Linked DNA regions of Homo sapiens: all the other regions are linked to region 1. Evidence: promoter capture Hi-C in 16 types of primary human blood cells and fetal thymus (Javierre and others, 2016). All regions are on one chromosome and are shown on one strand. Each heading gives the region's core, a stretch centred on a gene start or on the middle of the fragment in contact. The rest is flanking DNA. Distances are from core to core; before and after follow the strand shown. Region 1 holds the start of BLK-AS1 (BLK antisense RNA 1). Region 2 overlaps FDFT1 (farnesyl-diphosphate farnesyltransferase 1). Region 3 overlaps MTMR9 (myotubularin related protein 9).

What was found. The method cuts DNA at HindIII sites, captures the fragments that hold promoters and counts their contacts. A CHiCAGO score of 5 or more calls a contact.
Region 2: a contact is called between a fragment that was not itself captured here and the fragment with the promoter of BLK-AS1 in region 1, in 1 of 17 cell types (total B cells). The highest score is 5.8, in total B cells.
Region 3: a contact is called between a fragment that was not itself captured here and the fragment with the promoter of BLK-AS1 in region 1, in 2 of 17 cell types (fetal thymus and total B cells). The highest score is 5.4, in fetal thymus.

The regions. Positions count from the first base shown.
Region 1 is chr8:11,556,613-11,560,353 of GRCh38, reverse strand. It overlaps BLK-AS1 (BLK antisense RNA 1), which reads left to right and starts at 2,089. Exons shown (of 5, transcript XR_948956.3): 1 at 2,089-2,464; 2 at 3,693-3,741. BLK (BLK proto-oncogene, Src family tyrosine kinase) reads right to left here. Exons shown (of 13, transcript NM_001715.3): 9 at 3,517-3,696; 10 at 2,316-2,392. RefSeq lists an enhancer at 1,630-1,919. The HindIII fragment of the contact is 8,296 bases long and covers 1-3,741 here.
Region 2 is chr8:11,817,975-11,821,715 of GRCh38, reverse strand. The region is part of intron 3 of FDFT1 (farnesyl-diphosphate farnesyltransferase 1); the gene reads right to left. Among named protein-coding and RNA genes, the nearest start is that of FDFT1, 17 kb to the right of the region's middle. RefSeq lists enhancers at 1,030-1,079, 1,090-1,139. The HindIII fragment of the contact is 568 bases long and covers 1,503-2,070 here.
Region 3 is chr8:11,293,742-11,297,482 of GRCh38, reverse strand. It overlaps MTMR9 (myotubularin related protein 9), which reads right to left. Exons shown (of 10, transcript NM_015458.4): 2 at 2,181-2,289. Among named protein-coding and RNA genes, the nearest start is that of MTMR9, 11 kb to the right of the region's middle. The HindIII fragment of the contact is 4,846 bases long and covers 1-3,741 here.

The DNA of each region.
Region 1 (3,741 bases), core at 840-3,339:
CATGCATCCATCCATGTATCCATCCATCCATCCATCTATGCATCCTTCCATGTATCCATCCATCCATGGATCCATCCATCCATCCACCCACCCACCCACCCATCCATCCATCCACCCATTCATCCATCCATGCATGCATCCATCCATCCATCCATCCATCCATCCATCCATGCATCCATCCATCCACCCACCCACCCACCCACCCACCCACCCACGCATCCACCCATCCATGCATCCATCCATCCCCTTGCTACACCATGCAATCAATACTCATTTACTAATATGGGACTGTGGGGAATATAAAACTGAGTACTAAATATATCTGGGCAGCATCTAACAGTACTCGTTCTGATAACTAATATTTATTGAACAGTACCAGAAATATATTTTAAAAAATGTTGAGTAGGGCCCAGATCTGCTTTCAAGAAGAAGCTGCCCAGATCTGCTGAGCAAGAACAGTGCTTCCGGGAACACCTGAGCTAAGGGCTCTCTGGCAGTTTCTTGTCCAGGGAAACCTTCATAGAAATGACATTACGCTTGAGCCATGGATGATGATAAGGATTCTGCCAGGTGGGAAGTGTTCAAGGCTTCCTGGGCAGAGGAGGTAGAGGGGTGGCGAGGCATGGGGCATGGGAACCGGTGGCATCTGGCTGCAAAGTGGGGCCCGAGGGATTGTGATTGCAGGGTTCCTGTGGGGTTGGCCAGATCTGGCCTTGGAAGAAAGGTCTGGCGAGACTTTGCATGGCTTCCTATGGAGTAAGAAAAGAAGAGCCCAGAAGGGCCGGGTGTGTGTCTGCTCATGTGTGTGTAAGTTTGCGTGTTTGTGTGTGTGTTTGTGTGTGTGAGTTTGTGAGTTTGTGTAAATGTGTTTGTGTGAGTTTGTGTTTGAGTCTGAGTCTGTGTATTTGTGTGTCTGTGTGAGTTTGTGTGTGTGAGTCTGTGTGTCTGTGTGTGTGTCTGTCTGTGTGTGAGTTTGCGTGTCTGTGTGAGTCTGTGTATGTGTTTGTGTTTGTCCGTGTGTGTGTGAGTCTGTGTTTTTATGTGTGTGAGAGTGTGTGTGTGTACATGTGTGCTTAGAGAGCCATTGGCATGGTCAGCATGTGGTTAGAGGCTGCCCTTCTGGGAAGTTCTGATTTTCTGGCTCCTCACCCCCGATTCTGTGGCTACATCCAGGTATTAAACTCCGATGGCTTTTCACATCCTTTGCCCCTGGGTCACACGAGATTTCCCAAGGGGGTGTAGTGGGGATTGAATAGGAGACAGCGGAGGGTGAGAGAAGGAAGGGGAAAGGAAGCAGCAGCAGTGGGCAGGCTTATCACTGCCCTGGGGTTTGAAGCCGGTTACCAGCACTCATTTTCCAAAACCAGCCTGCCCAGATGGCTGTCTGCCCACCTCAGCGGAAAAAGGCGTTGTGGCATCAGTTCCTGCAGCGGCGCTACTGGGTAAGGCTGGGCGAGGGGCGAGGTGGGAGGGCTGATGTGGGCGGTGGGTGGGAGCGTTTCCTCTCGGTGGCAGCTGTATGTGTGTGTGTATGTGTACGCACGTGTGTGCCTCACAGGCTGACCACAGACCAAAACTTTTCTGCTGAGAGTTCCAGTTTTAACAGGGCCACCAGATGTGCTTCCTGCCAGCTAGAGCTCTCGGCTAAAACCCTCCTCTCCACTCTGCTCTTCACCCCATGGAGTCCAGAAAGTTCTGCATGTGAACGTGAGGGACACTGAGGACCAGTCCTGGGTAGCCAAGGAGGTCCAGCACTCGCAATTCCCTGGTGGCAGAAGGTGGGGCTGTCCTCCAGGGCTCAGAGAAGTCATGTCCCTGGCATCTGTGTGTAGCTCAGGCCTGCCCATCAGCCTGGGGTCGACGCCAGGGCTGTGCAAAGGCTGAGGGCCCCTGGGATGGGAAGTCCTACAGGAGATGTTTGTGGGCACCATCTAAGGAAGAGATGAGGTCACAACAGAACACACTTGCCTGCCGGGTTCAATGGAACTCTTGCTAACTCTGTGTGTTTCCCATGACATTCATTCGCCCTCTCTTCCTTCGGAACAGAATAGCCTCATTCCAACACAGCAGCCCGGGTCTAAGGCTCCATTCCCTGGGCTCCCTCACAGCTGCGTGGGGCAGGAGGCACAGTGGCCAGGGTTTGCAAGTCCAAGTGCAGTGGGTGACCTTGGGGATATCTGCCTAGAGGAAGGTGGCCTTCAGTACCCCCTGACTTCTCCTGCTGGCTGAGAGGATGGGGTGGTAAGGCACGAGCAGCCATTGTGGGCAGCAGGTGGCACATGCCGCCCTTTCTCTGCACCTGGTACTTCACCAACCTGCGCCGACATGTCAATCAGCCTTGGGAGTGACAATCTGCTCCCTTCATCTGTCTTCAGGAAATCCAGCAGGCATCCTAAGAAAAGAGAAGTTGCAAGTGCCCTTCTGCAAAGTGACCCGCCCCTGGTGGTGCCAGCCTCTCTCTGGTGTGAGTGGCTCCCCATGGGCGCGGGAAGTGGGAGTTTGCACCCTCAGATCTCTCGGTGCATCAGGAAGGATCTACCTACTGCTGCCGAGTGCCTTCCACTTTACAAAATGCCAGTCTCAGCACCCCGGGAGGCAGCCAATATACCAGCAGTTGCCCAGAAGTTAGGTTTCAGCCAGGTGCAGGGACCTGTCTGAAGTCACCCAGCCGGGAGCTGGGAGTGGGACCCCAGTTCTGACTCGAAGTTTCATGCCCCTTCTTGTCTTTCCCCCCGTGTTGGCCTCGCTCCCTTGATCCCTGCTGGCAGACACCCTCTGCCTCTGAGGACCAGGCATCAGCAAGAAAGCACCAGAATGGAGAGAACTGTCCCCCAGGTTTGGTGCAGGGGACAAATGCAGCTCCCCCTGGAATCAGAAAGCTGGGAGGGATGGATGCTTGCCCTAGGGGCAGGCTAGAGGCACCCCCAGCACAGCCTCCGACCGGGGGCCCCTTGGTGACAGTTGTTAGGGAGCTATATCAACATGGGCATGTTAGGATCCTATAGGAGCAGTGTGCGGTCAGGGTCATAGGAGGGTGAGAAAGTGGCATGAGAACTTGGCCACGCCGTGGACCTCAGAGGCCATCAAGCCCAACCTCTCTGGCCATCCTTGTAAAATATTCACACAGTTGTAAATGGTTGCATGACCAGGAGGCAGGAGACCTGGATCTAGTACTGTCCCTGCATGCCTGGCCTGGTGTTCGTCTGACTTTGCAATGCTCTGTCCCTCCCAGCAGGCATCAAAGAGTGCTAGGCACAGAAGATGCACTCCAGAAATGCTGTCTGAACTGCTCCTGGGCTGAGAACATGGCTCTGTCAGAACCACTTCACCCTCCTGTTTCTCACCCTCCCTCTGTCCCTCCCCCTCCCTCCATCCCTCCCTGTCCCCACACCGTGCCATGCCCTAGATCTGCAGGACCCCCTGGCCTGGTGAACCCACCGCAGCGGACCCTCCTCCTCCTGCTAAGCCCGGCCCTCCCGCCTCGCTCTGAGGATGCGGCTCTGCGGGGGGCACCACCTCTGGCCATGTACTCGGTGACAATGTAGATGGGCTCCTTGGTGACCACTGCGTAGAGTCGGACCAGCCGCTCGTGCTGCAGAGCCTTCATCACGTTGGCCTCACCCAGAAAGGCTTCTGGAGACATGGTTCCCTCCTTCAGCGTCTTAATGGCCACCTTCATGTTGTTTTTGTAGTAACCTGAGCCCGGGGGAGTGAAGAAGCCAATCAGAAGACAGAGAGCTT
Region 2 (3,741 bases), core at 537-3,036, 260 kb before region 1:
AAATATGTACAGACATGGCACCAAAGATCACAAGGCAAACAATGGCGGAATTAATCATGACTGCAATGGTTCATCTATAAGCCTAATTTAGGTCACACATTTTTTTTGTTTTTGTTTTTGTTTTTGAGATGGAGTCTCGCAATGTTGCCCAGGCTGGAGTGCAATGGCACGATCTCAGCTCACTGCAAACTCCGCCTCCCAGGTTCAAATGATTCTCCTGCCTCAGCCTCTCCAGGAGCTGGCATTACAGGCATGCACCACCACGCCCAGCTAATTTTTATATTTTTAGTAGAAGTGGGGTTTCACCATGTTGGCCAAGCTGGTCTCAAATTCCTGACCTCATGATCCACTAGCCCTGGCCTCCCAAACTGCTGGGATTACAGGCATAAGCCACTGAGCCCGGCCTCATGTTTCTTATTATTTCATAAATTTCATAAATATTAAAATAGAATGGTCTAAAAATGCTAATGTTTCTAGATTCAAAAGAAGATTCAAAGTCTCACTACACATTTCATCTTTCCAATGTATAATGAGATGCTTCAACATAAAGCTGGGTTTAAGTTTTTGGGAGAACAGCTTGTTTAGAGAAACCTCATTATGAGAAAGATTCATTTGTGCAAACATGGATCAAGCACTTCCTATGTAACAAGTATCATTCTAGGCACTGGGGATATACATCAGGGCAACAAACAGAAACTCAGACCCAGAGTTGCTTCCAAGATGTCCCAGTAGGAACAGCTCTGGTCTACAGCTCCCAGCAAGATCGATGCAGAAGATGGGTGATTTCTGCATTTCCAACTGAGGTACCTGGTTCATCTCACTGGCACTGGTTGGACAGTGGGTGCAGCCCATGGAGGGTGAGCCAAAGCAGGGCAGGACGTCACCTCATCCAGGAAGTGCAAGGGGTCAGGGGATTTCCCTTTCCTAGCCAAGGAAAGGCGTGAGTGACTGTACCTGGAGGAACAGTATACTCTGCCCAAATACTGTGCTTTTCCCAGTCTTCGCAACTGGCAGAGCAGGTGATTGCCTCCAGTGCCTGGCTCGGGGGGTCCCATGCCCATGGAACCTTGCTTGCTGCTAGCCAAGCAGTCTGAGATCAAGCTGGGATGCTGGAGCTTGGTGAGGGGAAGCGCCTCCCCGCCATTGCTGAGGCTTCAGTACGCACTTCTATGCTCACAGTGTAAACAAAGCAGCAAGGAAGCTTGAACTGGGTGGAGCCCACCGCAGCTCAGCAAGGCCTACTGCCTCTCTAGATTGCATCTCTGGGGGCAGGGCATATCTAAACAAAAGGCAGCAGACGGCTTCTGCAGATTTAAACATCCCTGCCTGACAGCTCTGAAGAGAGCAGTGGTTCTCCCAGCTCGGCATTTGAACTCCAGTAACGGACAGACTGCCTCCTCAAGTGGGTCCCTGAGCCCCATGTAGCCTGACTGGGAGGAGACACCTCCCAGTAGGGGCCGACAGACACCTCATATAGGTGGGTGTCCTTCTTGGACGAAGCTTCCAGAGGAAGGATCAGGCCGCGATATTTGCTGTTCTGCAGCCTCCACTGGTGATACCCAGGTAAACAGGGTCTAGAGTGGACCTCCAGCAACTCCAACAGACCTGCAGCTGACGGGCCTCTGTTAGAAGGAAAACTAACAAACAAAGGAATAGGATCAATATCAACAAAAAGGACACCCACACCAAAACCCATCTGTACGTCACCAAAATCAAAGACCAAAGGTAGATAAAACCACAAAGATGGGGAGAAACCACAGCAGAAAGGCTGAAAATTCCAAAAACAGAACGCCTCTTCTCCTCCAAAGGAACGTAACTCCTCACCAGCAAAGGAACAAAACTGGATGGACAATGAGTTTAACGAGTTGACAGAAGTAGGCTTCAGAAGGTTGGTAATAACAAACTTCTCCAAGCTAAAGCAGCACGTTCTGACCGATCGCAAGGAAACTTAAAACCTTGAGAAAAGGTTGGACAAATGGCTAACTAGAATAACCAGTGTAGAGAAGAGCTTAAATGACCTGATGGAGCTGAAAACCAAAGTACAAGAATTTCACAAAGCATAAACAAGCTTCAATAGCCGATTCGATCAAGCAGAAGAAAGGATATCAGTGATCGAAGATCAAATTAATGAAATAAAGCAAGAAGACAAGATTAGAGAAAAAAGAATGAAAAGAAATGAACAAAGGCTTCAATAAATATGCGACTATGTGAAAAGACCAATGCTATGATTGTTGTACCTGAAAGTGATAGACAGAATGGAACCAAGTTACAAAACACTCTTCAGTATATTATCCAGGAGAACTTCCCCAACCTAGCAAGGCAGGTCAACATTCAAATTCAGGAAATACAGAGAACACCACAAAGATATTCCTCGAGAAGCGCAATCCCAAGATACGTAATTGTCAGATTCACCAACGTTGAAATGAAGGAAAAAATGTTAAGGGCTGCCAGAGAGAAAGGTCGGGTTACCCACAAAGGGAAGCCCATCAGACTAACAGCAGATCTCTCAGCAGAAACCCTACTAGCCAGAAGAGAGTGGGGGCCAATATTCAGCATTCTTAAAGAATTTTCAACCCAGAATCTCATAACCAGCCAAACTAAGTTTCACAAGTGAAGGAGAAATAAAATCCTTTACAGACAAGCAAATGCTCAGAGATTTTGTCACCACCAGGCCTGCCCTAAAAGAGCTCCTGAAGGAAGCAGTAAAAATGGAAAGGAACAACTGGTACCAGCCACTGCAAAAACATGCCAAATTGTAAAGACCATCGAGGCTAGGAAGAAACTGCATCAATTAATGGGCAAAATAACCAGCAAACATCATAATGACAGATCAAATTCAAACATAACAATATTAACCTTAAATATAAGTGGGCTAAATGCCCCAGTTAAAAGACGCAGACTGGCAAATTGGATAAACAGTCAAGGCCCGTCACTGTGCTGTATTCAGGAGACCCGTCTCACGTGCAGAGATGCACATAGGCTCAAAATAAACAGCTGGAGGAAGATCTACCAAGCGAAAAAAAAAAGCAGGGAATGCAATCCTAGTCTCTAATAAAACAGACTTTAAACCAACTAAGATCAAAAGAGACAAAGAAGGCCACTACATAATGGTAAAGGGATCAATTCAACAAGAAGAGCTAACTATCTTAAACATATATGTACCCAATACAGGAGCACCCAGATTCATAAAGCAAGTCCTTAGAGACCTAGAAAAAGACTTAAAGTCTCTCATTATTATTGTGTGCGAGTCTAACATCCCACTGTCAATATTAGATAGATCAACAAGACAAAAGGTTAACAAGGATATCCAGGACTTGAACTCAGCTCTGGACCAAGCAGACCTAACAGACATCTACAGAACTCTCCACCCCAAATCAACAGAATATACATTCTTCTCAGCACCACATCGCACTTATTCTAAAATTGACCACAGAATTGGAAGAAAAACACTGCTCAGCAAATGTAAAAGAACAGAAATTACAACAAACTTTCTCTCAGACCACAGTGAAATCAAATTAGAACTCAGGATTAATAAACTCACTCAAAACCACACATCTACATGGAAACTGAACAACCTGCTCCTGAATGACTACTGGGTACATAACGAAATGAAAGCAGAAATAAAGATGTTCTTTGAAACCAATGAGAACAAAGACACAACATACCAGAATCTCTGGGACACATTTAAAGCAGTGTGTAGAGGGAAATTTATAGCACTAAATGCTCACAAGAGAAAGCAGG
Region 3 (3,741 bases), core at 548-3,047, 260 kb after region 1:
CTCTGCCCAAATGCCCAAATAGTGGGACATTATTTCAATTTAACAGTCTATAAACTACATGCATTCTCATTCAATTTAACAAATTACATCAAATCAACATCATGCATTACTTCCAAATGACAGATGTGTAAGACAAACAGTTCAGTTCATCTTCTCATTTCCTTAAGTAAAATTCAACAAAGGCAGGAAGAAATGTGTTATGTACCATTTACTTAGCACTATAACAGTTTTTCCTCTATTTCTCTATTCCTGTTTTAAAAATCACTAAAATCCTACTTCTAGATTTTTAAGACTTTCTACCCATTTTTAATAGCTAAGCTGATAGCATTTTTTGGACACAAAGTCCAGATTAGTTACACATACACGGAAAGAAAAAATCAACGTTCCTATAGTAGTCTAGAAAGTACTATAAACCTAAGATTAACTGATATAATTTAGTGGCAATAGTTTAAAATAAGGCAATTTAAAATTTCAGTGTACATCAAAATAGTTGGTTAGAATGGAAAGAAAACAGTATGAGCTCTTCCATTTAAACTAACCAAGTAAAATTTCTATTATTTGTAATCTGAACCAATATTCAATATTATTTATATAAATAAAAAGCAAACACACCCTGTCTTAAGCTAATTGATACGTGAAAATTCAGATTACTAAAAACAAACAAAAAACTATAATCACTGGTGACAGTTACTTGCTTTAGAAAAGAAATAACTTTTTAAAAGTCTCACCACATGCATCCATAACAATGGAATATTACTCAGCCTTAAAAAGTCAGAATTTACAACACAGATGAACTGTGAGGATATTATGCTAAGTGAAAAAAACCAGTCACAAAAAGACAAATACTATGTACTATGATTCTACTTATATGAGATACCTAAAGTAGTCAAATTCAGAGAAACAGAAAGTAGAATGGGGGTTCTCAGGAGCTGGAGAGAGGGGAAAATGGGGTGTTGTTTAACACAGAGTTTCGATCTTGCAAGATGAAAAAGTCCTGGAGATCTGCTGCACAACAATGTGAATAAAGTTTTATACCCTACTAAACTGTACACTTAAAAACGGTTAAGTGTTTTCTAACCACAATTTTTTTAAAAAAGCATCACCATAAAATTATAGTAAGTAATGACAGAGGACCCTCAAATGGTAGCTGCTATTTACCAAGTATTATACTAACCATTCTACACACATCAACTAATAAAATTCTTACAACAGCCCTAAAAGATAGGTACTATTATCCTTGTTTTATAAAACGTAGAAAACAAATCAGAGAGATGTTAAGTACTTTACCAATGGTCACAAGCTAGCATGTGGTAAAATCAAGAATCAAACTGTGCTATCGTTCAATAATGTACTAATACATGTAATAATGTGTATATATATATGTAATAATATGGTACAATAATATTCTAATTTATTAATATTTCTATTCAAATTTTTAGAACTGTATTTATTACAAAAGATATACTAGTATATTCAAGAAGAAACAATTCCACTTCTAGCTGCTAACCTGGTAGAGAAGTGAACAGTGCACTGGTTAACTCACTAGTGGTTTGCAGTGTCTCTAAGGAACTCTGTAGAGGGCAGATGGGAATAGTCAAGTCAATGAGGGCTTCTAGGTCCCCCCAGTCCCTACCTACTCACTGTAATGTGACTAAAAGCAATTCTAACTGTATCTATTTTATTGGTTTACAATTCCATATAAGATTTTACTTGAACAAACCTCAAGTAAAGGAAAGAAAAAGAAGTTTACAGTCTTTGGCACAGAGCTTTGTATAGTGAACATAAAATATCAAGCAAAACTTTAAAATTTCTCCCAAGAACCTCTTTACTAAATCTTCTAATGGTTTCCCCAAATAAGAACTCATACACTCAAGTGAAACAGTATCTGTTATTTAACCAATATGAACTCATGGAAATTCCACAAAGCCATTGGAAATGGAATTCCAAGCAACTCATGGAATTGAGCTACTCATATAACGTGAGTAACACCAGACACTGCTGGAAGTCAAGAAAGTTCCATTACACTCATATGACGATGAACCAGGGTGAGGCTTTTCCTATCAGTCTTCAGTATTTGAGTCAGAGAACATGACTAAATTATCTAATGAAGAAATGGAAGAGCTACACTGAGTCATAATATAAAATTATGTTTCATTAGATTTTGCTTCCAAAATACTTACCTCAATGGAACTGGCTATATTCAAGCATTCCTCCATTCCAGGAATATCCAACTGAATAATTCGAAAATCTTTACATTTTATGATGATGGTACCCAGTGATCCTACAAATCTGTAAGAAATTGCAAATCATGTTTAGGAACACATATATTACTAACTTTAAATATATTATTATTTCTTTGAAAAGAGAATATAGTTGTAGTTACCATCTATATTAACTTTCTTCTCCTCAGTCTAATTAAGGAAGAAGCAAGGCTGCATCATTAAAATGTGAGCCATACATTACTTACAATATATGTCTTTTTTAAATTTCAAATATATAAAGTAATTCACATTAAGCTAACTGTTCTGATGGAGATTATTTGGGGCCTTATTTCAAAGAATAGGAAAAAGATCTGTAACTAATGTGTTAAGTGTTTGTAGAGAGATATTTCTGGAGCATAGGAAAACAGTTCACTTCAGATTTCCCTTACTTCCAAGTGATACATATTATGTATCAATTTATAAAAAGCAAAAGGGCCGGGTGCCGTGGCTCACGTCTGTAATCCCAGCACTTCAGGAAGCCAAGGCGGGTGGATCACGAGGTCAGGAGATCAAGACCATCCTGGCTAACACAGTGAAATTCTGTCTCTGCTAAAAATACAAAAAATTAGCTGGGCGTGGTGGCATGCAGCTACTCAGGAGGCTCAGGCAAGAGAATCGCTTGAACCCGGGAGGCAGAGGTTGCAGTGAGCCGAGTCTGAGCCACTGCACTCCAGCCTAGGTGACAGAGTTGAGACTCTGTCTCAAAAAAAAAAAAAAAAAAGTGAAAGTATTTGACAAAATCTAACATCCATTTCTGATTTAAAAACATGAAAAACCAAAAATTTCTCAGCAAATTTGAAACAGAAGGGAACTTCCTCAACCTGATAAGGGCATTTACAAAAAACCCCACAAAAAAACCCCTAAATCTAATAGCACACTTAACGGTGAAGGATTGAATTATTTCTCTCTAAAATCATGAATAACACAAAGATGTTCACTGTCACCACTTCTAGTCAACATTGCACTCAAGGTTATAACTAGTGCAGTAAGGTAAAAAGAATAAAAAAGGATTAAAAAAGAAGTAAAACTACCTTTATTTGCAGATGACGATTGTGTAAATGTACCCAGAATTTTCTTTTTATTGTCAATTATTCCCCAAATTCATCCAGTGATACAACATAATTCCAAACAAAATCACAGCAGACTTTAATGTAGAAACTGAAAAGGTGATTCTAAAATTCATATGGAAATGCAAATGTCTTCAAATAGCCAAAACAACTTTGAATAAGAACAAAGTGGTATGGCTAACACTACACAATTTCAAGGCTTACTATAAAGCTACAGTAATTAAGACAGTGTGAAAATGACATGATGATAACAGATCAACTGAACAGAAAAAAAGAGTCCAGAAATAGATCCACTTACACGTGAACAGAGATACGAAGACAATTCAATTGAAGACAGGTCAGTCTTTTCAACAAATGGTGCTGGCACAACTGGATAGCTTTTTTTTTTTTTAAAGAATTTGAATCTATAATCA